Regions from separate parts of the Homo sapiens genome. Here all the other regions are linked to region 2. Evidence: promoter capture Hi-C in 16 types of primary human blood cells and fetal thymus (Javierre and others, 2016). All regions are on one chromosome and are shown on one strand. The core of a region is centred on a gene start or on the middle of the fragment in contact, and the rest is flanking DNA. Distances in the headings are between cores, read along the strand shown. Region 1 holds the start of SNORD126 (small nucleolar RNA, C/D box 126). Region 2 holds the start of ZNF219 (zinc finger protein 219). Region 3 overlaps KLHL33 (kelch like family member 33).

The links. The method cuts DNA at HindIII sites, captures the fragments that hold promoters and counts their contacts. A CHiCAGO score of 5 or more calls a contact.
Region 1: a contact is called between a fragment that was not itself captured here and the fragment with the promoter of ZNF219 in region 2, in 1 of 17 cell types (total B cells). The highest score is 5.4, in total B cells.
Region 3: a fragment that was not itself captured here is called in contact with the fragment with the promoter of ZNF219 in region 2 in 1 of 17 cell types (monocytes); the score reaches 6.3 in monocytes.

What each region holds. Positions count from the first base shown.
Region 1 is chr14:20,323,235-20,327,317 of GRCh38, forward strand. CCNB1IP1 (cyclin B1 interacting protein 1) reads right to left here. Exons shown (of 7, transcript NM_021178.5): 3 at 3,482-3,559; 4 at 2,305-2,419. It overlaps SNORD126 (small nucleolar RNA, C/D box 126), which reads right to left and starts at 3,305; the gene lies at 3,207-3,305. It overlaps SNORA79B (small nucleolar RNA, H/ACA box 79B), which reads right to left and starts at 92; the gene lies at 1-92. The HindIII fragment of the contact is 275 bases long and covers 2,277-2,551 here.
Region 2 is chr14:21,096,182-21,100,079 of GRCh38, forward strand. It overlaps ZNF219 (zinc finger protein 219), which reads right to left and starts at 2,474. Exons shown (of 5, transcript NM_016423.3): 1 at 2,131-2,474. It also overlaps a transcript of TMEM253 not described here. RefSeq lists enhancers at 895-1,396, 2,156-2,656. The HindIII fragment of the contact is 7,101 bases long and covers 24-3,898 here.
Region 3 is chr14:20,427,594-20,431,971 of GRCh38, forward strand. It overlaps KLHL33 (kelch like family member 33), which reads right to left. Exons shown (of 5, transcript NM_001365790.2): 3 at 2,202-3,126; 4 at 1,909-2,076; 5 at 1-1,808. The coding sequence ends at 1,256. Among named protein-coding and RNA genes, the nearest start is that of KLHL33, 6.4 kb to the right of the region's middle. RefSeq lists an enhancer at 1,401-2,033. The HindIII fragment of the contact is 607 bases long and covers 948-1,554 here.

The DNA.
Region 1 (4,083 bases), core at 1,164-3,663, 770 kb before region 2:
TGGTGCCCTGAGTGAAGATAAGCCATTTTTGATATATGATGGATCAAAATCCCACTGCCTAAGGCTTCAAGCAGTGAGAGGAACAGCCATCAAAGTTTAACTCCAACCACATTAATTTAAGAAACGTTTATAAAAAATAAAGACATCCCAACCTGGGCAACATGGCAAAACCCCATCTCTACAAAAAAATACAAAAAATTAGCCAGGCATGGTGGCCTGTGGTCCCAGCTACTTGGGAGCCTGAGGTGAGAGAATCACCCGAGGCTGGGAAGCCAGGGCTGCAGTGAGCCCTGATTATGCCACTGCACTCCAGCCTGGGCAATGGAATGAGTCCCTGTCTCAAAAAAAAAAAAATGAAGACATCAAGAGACTCTTATAAGATAGGAATCATTACATCTAAGTAAGAACTAGAGGCCGGGCGTGGTGGCTCACGCCTATAATCCCAGCACTTTGGGAGGCCGAGGCGGGTGGATCATGAGGTCAGAAGATCGAGACCACGGTGAAACCCCGTCTCTACTAAAAATACAAAAAAAATTAGCCAGGCGTGGTGGCGGGCGCCTGTATTCCCAGCTACTCAGGAGGCTGAGGCAGGAGAATGGCGTGAACCTGGGAGGCGGAGCTTGCAGTGAGCCCAGATCGTGCCACTGCACTCCAGCCTGGGCGACAGAGCGAGACTCCGTCTCAAAAAAAAAAAAAAAAAAAAAAAGTAAGAACTAGAAGAGATCATTAAGGATCAACTGATCCAGCAAGGGAAAATGAGGAACTAGATAACAAGTTAGTACCAAAATCAAGATTAACCAACTAAAGAAAATGTTATTCCAACAATTATATAAAGATACACATTATAGTGCCTATGACTAATTCTAGAACTTAATTAAGTTTTGAGGGGCGGGGTGAAGGTAATGAGGGGTAGTCTAATTAACAGAAAGATATATGAGCAATAAAAACAAAGAATTTCCTCTTTTTTTCTGAGACGAAGTCTAGCTCTGTCACCCAAGCTGGAGTGCAGTGGTGCGATCTCAGCTCACCACAACCTCTGCCTCCCAGATTCAAGCGATTCTCCTGCCTCAGCCTCCCAAGTAGCTGGGATTACAGGTGCACGCCACCACACCCAGCTAATTTTTGTATTTTTGGTAGAAACGAGGTTTCACCATGTTAGCCAGGCTGGTCTTGAACTCCTGACCTTAGGTGATCTGCCCACCTCGCCTCCCAAAGTGCTGGGTTTACAGGCATGAGCCACCACGTCAGGCCAAAACAAAGAATTTTCGTCAATCTATTATGCAGATGTCAAAAATTGCCAGGTAGTACAGAATCTAAGAGAAATATACGCATGGATTCTGATGACAAATAGTTAACATCAAACTGAGCATTTACCGTATGCTTTACCCACACCCTTACTAATTTAATCTTCAAAATAACCACCCTGAGTCAAATACTATTGCCATCCTCTAAAATATAAAACTAAGACATAGATATTAGGAAACTTGCCAATGCTGCATAACTGGTGAAGTGATAGAGCATGCGTTTGAACTCAGTCTGACTCCAGAACCCATATATATACTATACAATGCTACTTCTCAACATCTTTAATTGACTCTTTTTTTTGGAGACGGAATCTCCCTATCACCCAGGCTGGAGTATAGTTGCGCTCTCTCTGCTTACTAAAACTTCCACCTCCTGGGTTCAAGCCTCAGCCTCCTGAGTAGCTGGGACTACAGGCGCACACCACCAGGCCCAGATAATTTTTTGTATTTTTTTAGTAGAGATGGGGTTTTGCCATGTTGGCCAGTCTGGTCTCAAACTCCTGAGCTCAGACAATCCACCCACCTCGGCCTCCCAAAGTGCTAGGATTACAGGTGTGAGCCACCACGCCTGGCCTCAACTGACTTTTAAAAAGTGAAATTTAGCCGGGCGCGGTGGCTCACGCCTGTAATCCCAGCACTTTGGGAGGCCGAGGCGGGCGGATCACGAGGTCAGGAGATCGAGACCATCCCGGCTAAAACGGTGAAACCCCGTCTCTACTAAAAATACAAAAAATTAGCCGGGCGTAGTGGCGGGCAACTGTAGTCCCAGCTACTTGGGAGGCTGAGGCAGGAGAATGGCGTGAACCCGGGAGGCGGAGCTTGCAGTGAGCCGAGATCCCGCCACTGCACTCCAGCCTGGGCGACAGAGCAAGACTCCGTCTCAAAAAAAAAAAAAAAGTGAAATTTATAGCACCTTAGCAGCTGGCCATGAAGTCACAAACCTGAATTTTCAAAGACTCATATATATGGCAAAGCTTCTCAATCTCAACGTAAGCCTTACCATAAAAGAAAAACGCAGTACTCATCTACAGTATATCCAGGATTTACAGCACCAAAGAGGTCCAGACTGGAACAGCGAAACTCAGATCTGGTTTCAGTCTCTTGAAATTTTACTCCTGCAAAAGACAACAAAAGCTAAAAAATTATTTCAAGTCCTGATGTTACTTTGAGTTGTTTGTATTTCCTGTATTTCACCCTTCTTTCTACCTAATTCTCTGCTGAAAATGCAGGCACGGGTAAAGAATATAAGCTTGTCCTAAGTTACCTAAAATAACTTTTAAAATATTACAATACATGAATACAATAAAATTAGAAAATAGGTTTATAATAATAAAAGATTACTTGTAGAACCCAATTCTAGAGAAAATAACCCCCTAGTATTTTAGTATATATGTCCTTTCAGTTTTCTTAAGCAAACATATGCATATAAAAATATTTAAGCAGAAACATATTGCTCTATATAATCTGTTTTTCATGTGTCATGAATACCGTTCTATTTCAATAAACATAAAACTGTATCATAACTTTTAAGTGATTCTATAGTGTTGTACCGTATAGTCTTCACAAAATTGATTTAACCAACTCTGTGTTTCCTTTAATCTACATGTATAGATTGATAAAATAATGATTAGTTTAAAACTGCCAGGCTAAATTGCCTATAGAATTATACCAGTTGCCAGTGCTTTTTCTGTAGTGTTTGAACTTTTAGATTAATGATTCCTGACCCTAGTTCTAACTCACAAAAGTGATTTTTTGGGGATATAGAGATATCACAAAAGATCAAAGCACAACAAAACATTAGTCTCAAATTCATAATTTATTAAGATTTAAGAATTACCTGGGATTACAGACTAAATCCCAGTATGAATTCCAACAAGCAGAATTCAATTGCAGGTGTTTGCCCCTAGCTTTAGTCTGCTCAGAGCATGTGTTTAATCAGGCTGATCAGCTGAAACACGGACTTAACATGCATTTCATCATGGCAAACTGTAAATGACTGAGGAAGGGCAAACCAGCACTGGCTCCTCATCCCTAAACAGGAAAATTCTCCTAAGGTTAGAACTGGGGATTTTTTTTAATTACCAAATTCCATCCACTAATAACACCGAGTCCCAAGTCTTGCTAAGTGATTAGAAATCCAAATGAGGTAAAAACGAAGATTTTGCTCTTACTCTTACCTCTGGCATCACATGAATCCAGCTTCTATCTAGAAATCCAGTTGAACCACAGGATCTATCAATTATCTAGGATCATTTCTGGAAAATTTAAAAAACATAAATAAATTCACAAAGGTTATGATTACATGACAACTCACACCAGCATGTTCTATACCAAGTCACAAGAAAATTTAGAGTAACCGTTCATCCTTTATTTAACTCTCCATTCATTAATATAAATTATTGACTCATCTATTTGGAGAATGTCACCAAATGCCCAAGCTCAATATCAAATAGGGCAGGATCAGGAGTTCAAGGTTACAGTGAGCTGTGATCGTGCCACTGTACTCCAGCCTAGGCAACAGAGTAAGACCCCGTCTCGAACAAAACAAAAAAAATTTAACAACAACAACAAAAAAAAACCGAGCAGGACCCCTACACAAGCTTAATTTTGTATAAATTTACAAGCTTGGATAAAACTGCACAATAGTCTAACCAACTTCTGAAAGGCTATAAAGGTCAACAACCTCACAGTAAGAAAACAGTTATGCAAGAGGAAGGAGTCAAGAACTTTTAAGATTCAGATAACTGAGAAAATAATCCAAAATAGTCAGTTTTTTCAA
Region 2 (3,898 bases), core at 1,224-3,723:
CAAGAAGAGTCAGAAAAGGGCAAAGCTTCCTATCCCAAAACAAAACAACAATAAACCACTTTGCACATAGCAGTTTCCAGAACAGAAATAGAGTGATATACAAGAAGGCCCAAACTGAAGCTGAATTCCCCAGCACGGAAAGTTTCCCCAGAAGGTGGCCTAAAATCAACAAAACTCACTGAGATACCTTCTTAGGCCCAATGAAGATCTGAATCATCTCCATATCAAACCAGGTTCCAGACACCTGATCCCATGATTTTTTTCTCAGTAGGGGAAAGAACTGACAGGGACTGGGATACTATGAACTGCCTTGGAACCGAGGTCATGCATATATTGCCCCTGGACAATAATCACAGAGTTTTCTATAGTCAGGCCTTAAACACCATCCTCGAGACTTGGCCAGACAGCAGCACTGACCTACTTTCCACCCCCACTGGGAATCAGGGGTTATCTTGCCCTTATTTGGATTCTATAAGGATGCGGGGCCAGGGATAGATATCAGAAACCTTTCAAAAGCAGTAGGCCAATTATCCTTACATGCTGGGGCAGCTGGTAGGGAAGTGGGTGTGGACCACTAAACCTTACTCAGTAGAGAAGGATGGAATGGTTGGTGAAAAGACTTAGAAACAACAAGGACAGGTACATAGAAGTATTTGCTAAATGGACCACAAAGACTGTCCCTCAAGTCTTGTGATTCAAAAGTTTTTAGGGTCAAAGTGTAAGGAGCAAGGGTTCAGGACTTCTGGGGTCCAGTTGTAACTGCCTCTGGTCACCTCTAACACGATGGTTTTCCCTCTTGAGAATCCTAGACCTCCCAAATCTGCTAACAATTATGATTACCACTGCACTAGATGGGGTTAAAAGGAAAGGGAGCTTCTAGGGCGGTCTACGTTCAAAAGACTACCTTGATCACACAGACACACCAGTAGTTCACTTTTATGGTCTCCTCTCCATGGCCCTCTGAACCTCACTGCTCAGATAGCTCCTCCTAACCCGCTCCACTCTGCAGCTCACCAGCCTTTTTAGACTGAGATCTTGGTAAAGCCTCCTTCCCTCTGTCCTCACTCTCCTGAGTTAGGGACATGGAACCTCAGCCATGGACTTCAAAGGTACAGCAGGAGGCGAGAGGAAGGCACACCTGCTCACCTGCTGCCATCCCACCATGGGGAATCTTATCCCAGAGGCATGTCCTAACGCAACCCCGATTTTGATTTTGAAAGTTCTGGAAGACCTGGGTTTGGGAAAGAGGGGCATGTAGCCAGCCCTAAGTCCCTTTAAGTGGAGCTGACCCTAGAAAAGTCAGTCTTAGCACCCACGTGAGCCTCGGTCCTCAGACTGGGAGGTAGGGGCGATCAAGGGAGCCTCTGGGAAAATCCCCCTCCCAGAAATAGATTGCTAAGTAGGGTAGGACCTGCTATCCTGCCGGAGAGGTTTTTCCAGCAGCACCCCAGACCCCTCCCCAGGAAGATAAGCCAGAAGGATGATGGGGGGCAGGGTTGGGAGATAGGGAGGCCAAGGCTCAGCTACCCCCGGCCAGGAGAACAAAAGCTGAGTTACAGCCGCCTCCGCTGCTGCCGCGGGCCGAGCTCTTTGTGACACTTTGTTTGGGACGCAAAGAGGGAAGCACCCCCCATCCTTTCCCCTCCCCCGCCACCCCGTGCTTCCAGAGAGTTTGGGCTCCTTCCCCCTCCCCCACCAGCCCTACCTGGGCCGGGGGTTGGGGGGTGCACATCCACTCAGGCTCGCGGCTCTGCCGCCCCTCACCCCCAGGTCCCTCGCGCCCTGCCTTCGGGCCCCTACAAAGACACCCGCCACCTCCCCCGCCACATCCCCCCCGTTGGCCCTTCCCTTTGGTGTCTGCTCCCCCAGCTCTTCCACCTGGCCCCCCCTCCCTTGGGGCCCCCCAGCTCTCCAGGCTTCCGAGGCCGCCACCCCCACCCCGCCCCCCCAGGAGCTCTGGGCGAAGTTTGCTTGGGGCCGAGCCGGCGCCCCTCCCCCGCCCCCGCCCCCTGCACCTGCTCCGAGCCGGGCGCGCTGAGCGGGCCCCCCCTCCGGGAGGGGGGAGGGGGCCGGGGGCGGGGGCCGGGTGGCGGACGGGGGGGCCCGGGAGTCGGGGGAGCGGCTACTCACGAGCCCCGGGCGGGCGGCGGCGGAGCGGGCGGCGGCGGCGGCGGCGGCGGCGGGCGGCGGGCCGGCGGCGCGGGCGTCAGCGTTACGTGGGGCCGGGGGAGATGCGCCGGGCCCCGGCCCCCCCGCCCCCGGCCCGGCCCCCGCCCCCTCCCCGGTCCCCCGCCCCCGGCCCTGGCCCGCATTGTGTGCGGCGGGAGGCGGCCCGGCCATTAGCATGCGGGGGGCGGCGCGGCGGGGCTGGGAGCCGCGCGGGAGCCGGGCTCTGGCTCCGGGGACAGGGAGCTGGGGACCCCGGGAGCCGCGAGAGGCGGCCGCCAGGGGCGGGGTGCGGGCGGTTTGGAGACGGGGGGCGCTGTCGGAGGGAGGGAGGAAGGGAGGGAGCGGGGGTGGGGCGCACAGAGGATTCCAACAGGAGACTGGAAGAGATTTTGAAAGGTCATCTCGTCCTTCCCCCAGCCTCCAAGCAGCACTGCCCCTCCCTCCCTAAACCCGGACATACCAGGGAAGGAGTTGGCTCTGCCGCTCTTTCTGCCCCAACATGCACAGACTCGGGAAGTTCTTCCTGGGGTTTTATCTCAAAGCCTCTCCCTTACAATTTCTGTCTCTCTTTTGGGGGAGGAGGAGGGGCGATTATAGAGATAGTTAATGTCGGCCGTATAAGAAACATTATTAAAGTTACTCTTCGGTCCTTTCCGTTCTTGATAAACAATTCCTGCGCCTTCCTCTCGAATTCTATTTTCCATTCCTCAAGTCACTTTAATGGCTCTTCAATACAACAAATATTTACTGAGTGCTTACTAAGTGCCAGGCACTGGGCTCAGCGCTGTGAGGGATGAGAAAGAAGTGGTACCTTCCTTCCAGGCGATTGTAGTCTAGACTACAAACTGGTAAGTAGTATACTCAGATTTAGTCAATATTTACTGAATGCCTGTTCACCTATCTAATAGTATATAATCTTTCCAATAACCCTCTATAATTAAATTAGCCCCCATTTACAAGTAAGAAAAATGAGGCTTCAGGAAGTCTGTTTCCCCAGTGGCCTGCAGGCTCGGGGATCCTCAGTGCAAGCCCAACATCTCACATCGCCACCAAATAAAATCAATGCACGTGGGAATTGAGGAGGAGTAGACACACAGCAGTTTTCTGGATCTCTTTAAAACGTGACTCCCACTCCCCGGGAAAGAAAAGAGTAGATACAATGACCCGCCGATGTTGGCACAGCACTGATGGGGCAGGAGTGGCTTACAAAAGATCACTTGCCTCCCAGGACCCTGCCTCCCTCCTCGTACTAACTTCTAGAGTCTTCTGGCGCAGTCTCCTCTTATCGTCAACAACAAGAAATAATAATAGTGATGATGATCATAGCCACTAACATTGAGCACTTGTGTACCAGGTACTGGGCTAAGCTCTCTTCCATGCTGAAAGCAACCCCTTGAGACTGGTATTATTAACTTCCTTTTATAGATAAGGGAACAGAGAGATTAAGCAACTTGCCAAGGGCACCTAGGTAGATCTGGGATTTGTTTTGATCTATAGAGTATATTTGGGCCCAGCTGGTTCTGCTTCCGACTGTAGAAATGTGTCCCCAGCTTCCTTCTGAATAACACTTTTAGTGTATGGGCATCAGACTTATCGGTGTGACCTCATCAGCACCACTAATAGTTATTAAACACCCACCCTGAATCAACAACTCTTCACAGTCATATTGTTAGCCCCCTTTTATCAGTGAATAAACTGAGGTGCGAATAGGTAGAAAAACATATCTATC
Region 3 (4,378 bases), core at 1-2,500, 670 kb before region 2:
CTTCCTGAGCAGAGTTCACTGCTCTATCCTCTGGGCTCTCGCAAGACTCGTCCATACATGTAAGTCCACTCAAAATTTGTATTTGTTTATGTCTATCTGCTGGTCAGGAGCTCTCTGACCTCTGTATCTTGGTGCCTCCTACAGTGCCTGCCACACAGTAGGTAATTAATAACTGTGTGAGGGAGAAAGAAGAGAAAGAAAAAAGAGAGGCAGTGGGGAGAGCAGGATGGGGGAAGAGAGAAAGAGGAAGCACCTGACTACCTTCCCTGGCCAAGATAAAGGGAAATGGATTTAAAAATAACTCTGGGGGAAAGGAACTGAAAGGGGGAAATGACTTTTCTGAGTCTTGTCTGCTTCTCACTCTTCTCTCCCCCCACATCCTCTCACCACTTGAGACCTCAGGCAACAACGGTCTCATTTTCACTCCTGATTCCTCAGTTTGCCCAAAAGAAAGAAGGCACACAGGCTTCTGACTTCTTCCACCCCATCTCCTTAAACCTCAGATCATCTGTTTTTCCACTGTGGGCCTCTCCCTCCTTGGCCTCTGCCCCCATCATCTTTCCCACACAACACTCCTGCCACATGGCCCTGGGGGGCCCGTCAGGCCTCTCAGGCCCCTGTGCCGTGCATGTCCATGTGGGAGCTTCTGCCTCAGAAGGAAACCAAGAGGTTCTCAGGGGCAGCCTGTGGTGTCTCGCTGGGAAACGCTAGACCAGGCCTACAAAGTTACCCGGGAGAGAATATTGTTAAGAAGGTTTAGGCATCCCAGGGGTGGGAGAGGAGAAAGGAGCAAGTTCCAGGAAAAAAAGGGCTGAACGATTTACAGTCCTTACTCCTACACTCCTCAAACTCTTTCATGGATGGCCATTCCACATTTTTCCCATGATCCATGGGTCAGAACCATTTTTCCAACTGTCCTCCCATGGTCTCTACACTTTGGCTACTGAAGCTTCTTAACTCTCTTTCAAACTAGATGCCCTTTCCCTAAGAATCCCTAAGCCTTGTGGAGTTGCTCCCGAGTCTCCTTTCCTCACCTGGGTATTCAGCTGCCTCCCCTTTCCCTATATGTTTTCCCTAGGAGTTCTGGAACCACCATTTCCTCAACGGAGATCATACGTACAAAAGCAGTTTACAATGCACAGTGTGAGAATAAAATACTACCAAGAATAAAGCCTCTTTTCACTCCCCACAATCTCTGTCCTTCTCTCAGGCTATTTCTTATGCCCTCCTCTCCCCATACACTGTTGCTCCCTCTTCACCCAGCAGGTTTGGTTTGGTGTGGGGTGGGAACCAAAGCTATGTGCTGCACAGCGGGCAGTGTCAGGATGCAGGCAGGCATCTCAGCCCGAGGCCTTGGCAGAGTTCCCAGGCAGAGCCATCGGCCCAGGCCAGGACAGTAGGCATGGATAAGGTGAGAGAGGGCATAAGTACGGTGACTGTAGCCCCCGAGCACCAGTAGCTCCCCCTGCAGCACAGCACTTGCAGCCCCCACATGGGGGGAGGGTAGGGGTGCCAGGTGAGTCCAGCTATCAGTCCTTAGTTCATAGGCCTCAAAGCTTAGCAGGTCCTCAGTCTCACCCAGCCCACCTGCCACATACAACCTCCCACCCAATGCAGCCATGACATGGCCAGCCCGAGGTACCCCCATAGGGCTCAGAAACGTCCCTGGCTTCTCAAGTTTGGGGTCATAGTGCATCAGTGAGGCCAGGTATTGGCCAGTCCCACCACAGCCACCGCTCACGTACAACTGGCCCTCCAAAATCGCAGCTGCGTGGGCAAAACATGGTGCTGGAAGTGCAGGTGCTGGCCTAAGGGAGAACAGGACACAAGATAAGGCAACTAGCATCTTCAACTCTCCTTCTATTCCAAGTCTCCTAATCTCTCCCAGATGCCCCCTTGCCTGCTTACCTCCAGACATTGAGCTCAGGGTTGTAGGTCTCCACAGAGTCCAGGGCAACATCATTGTGTCTTCCACCCAGGGCATAAAGTTTTCCATCCAGTGCCACCAAGGAGAAAAGGCTTCGAGCCTGGGACAAAGGAGCCATCTCCTCCCAGTCCTCTTGACTGGGCTCCCACCTGGACACAGTAGGACAAGAGATTGGAAGAGGGACTCTGGGCATCCGTGGTTGGCTAGGCCAGCAATTTCTCTCCCTGCCCACCTTAGGGCCTGCCACACCCTGCCCACTCCTAGAAGCTTATACCTGAGAGTTGAAGCCAGGGTGTTGGAGTGACTGTAGAAATCTTGTCCCCCACACACATAGAGTTCACTTCCTGCCAGGCTTGCAGCCCCATGCCGGAAGCGTCCGGGGGCAGGCAGGGCAGGCAGCTGCCCCCACTCAACAGTTCGTACCAGTCCCACGCCACAGCGGAAGGCCCGGGCCCACCACACTGCTCGGGATGGTTGTCTTAGGGCCATGTCTGGTCTGAGCCCATCCCCGCCAATCACTACCAGTGCCCGGTCAGGCTCCCTCCGTCTCTCTTGGCCTGGAACATCAGCCTCTACCATCAGCTGGTGCAACAGATCTGGGGTCAGGGGTGGAAGTAGCCCGGCTGCCCGCACCCTCCGCAACTCCCTGGTGGACATGCGGCCAAAGCGGACACATCGCAGCAGGGCCTTGGCCTCTGACTCCTGGGTCTCGGGGTTGGCAGCCAGCCAACACCGTGCAGCCACAAAGGCCTCAAACTCCTCCTGCACATGGAGCTCATCACTATCCAGGAGCTCAGCCAAGCAGGCAGCTGGTAAAGAAGGGAAAGCAGGACACAAGGCTACAGCAGGCAGGTGGGTGAGGAGGTAGTGACGGGCTTTGCTCCAGAGCCTCTCCAACCCAGGGGCTTCCGCCATGGGGAACAGGGCCAGGCAACGGGCAGGGCTGAGGCCCCGTGCCAAGCCTTTCTGACACAAATCCAAGCAGGAAGAGCTCTGGTACTGCAGAGCAGCCTGGGCAGCTCTCAGTAGCCCTGGCCACCTTGCCCGCACAACTCCGGAGTAAGCAAAAGAGACGAGGAGTCGCAGGTCCTGGGTGGAGATCGTCCGCAGAGATACCTCTGTGCCCTGGGATTCCCTCATCCCGCTCAGGAGCATGGCCCCAAAGAACTCACTGCCACAGGCCAGGGCGGCTCGGTGCACTGCAGGAGGGGAGAAGGAATAGAGGAGGACTCAAAGTATTGCAAGACCGATAGGCATTACCCCAACTTGGTACTCTAAGTTTGGCCAAACTCTAAGTTTGGCCCTCCAAGCCACCCACTGCTACAGACCAAACTGTGGTGTGCATCAGAATACCATGGGGTAGTTGTTAAAATGCAGGTTTCAGCAGTCCACTCCCAGAGATTCTGATTCAGCAGTTCTGGACGGAGACCCTAGAAATTTGTATTGTAACACTTCAAGTAACCCTATGTGATTCTCATGTTAGTGGCCTGAAGACACTTAGATAAACATTGCTTTAGTCTTTTTGGTCAGATGAGTCAGAAAAAGAGTCTTCATGGATCAGGTTGAGAGGAAAGCATTTGCTAAGAGGAGCACAAAATAAATGGGAAATGACCAACAAGCAACTTATATAGGTCTGTCTATATCGTGACAAAATAAAATTCTTTACAATCAAGAGCCAAGACTGTCAGCCATTCTGTTAGATTTTGCTGGGAAAGTGGCACCACTCGGGAATGGCTGTAATCCAACCTCATCGGATTGCTGTCTCCTCTTGCCTAAGATTTAGTGTTTAATGTTTTCCGTGCGTCCCAGCTTTTCTCTGCATAACCCTCTCCTGTTCTTGGTGTAATTTGTAGAATCATGAGATCTGAAACTTGAGAACTTCAAAATAATCTAATTCAATTATTCCCTTTAAAATAAGGAAACTGGTTGGGTGTCGTGGCACACACCTGTAATCCCAGCACTTTGGGAGGCTGAGGTGGGTAGGATCACTTGAGGTCAGGAGTTCAAGGCCAGCCTGGCCAACATGGTGAAACTCCATCTCTACCAAAAATACAAACATTAGCCGGGCATGGTGGCAGGCGCCTGTAATCCCAGCTACTTGGAGACTGAGGCAGGAGAATAGCTTGAACCTGGGAGGCGAGGGTTGCAATGAGCTGAGACTGCGCCGCTGCACCCAGCCTGGGTGACAGAGCGAGACTCCATCTCAAAATAAATAAATAAATAAAATGTGGAAACTGAGTTGGGTCCCAAAGAAAGCATGTGATTTATTTTTCATTTCCATGCAGTGGCTGTGTGGGCAGATCATCTCCATCCACTGCCACTGATGTCAGGCTGCAATAAGCATGCTTGTGTACCAATACCTTGGTTATCTGCATGGTCCTCATGACAATGAAACTGTCCTATTAACCTACGCTGTTAAACAATTAGACCTCATACTCAGCATCACTTATG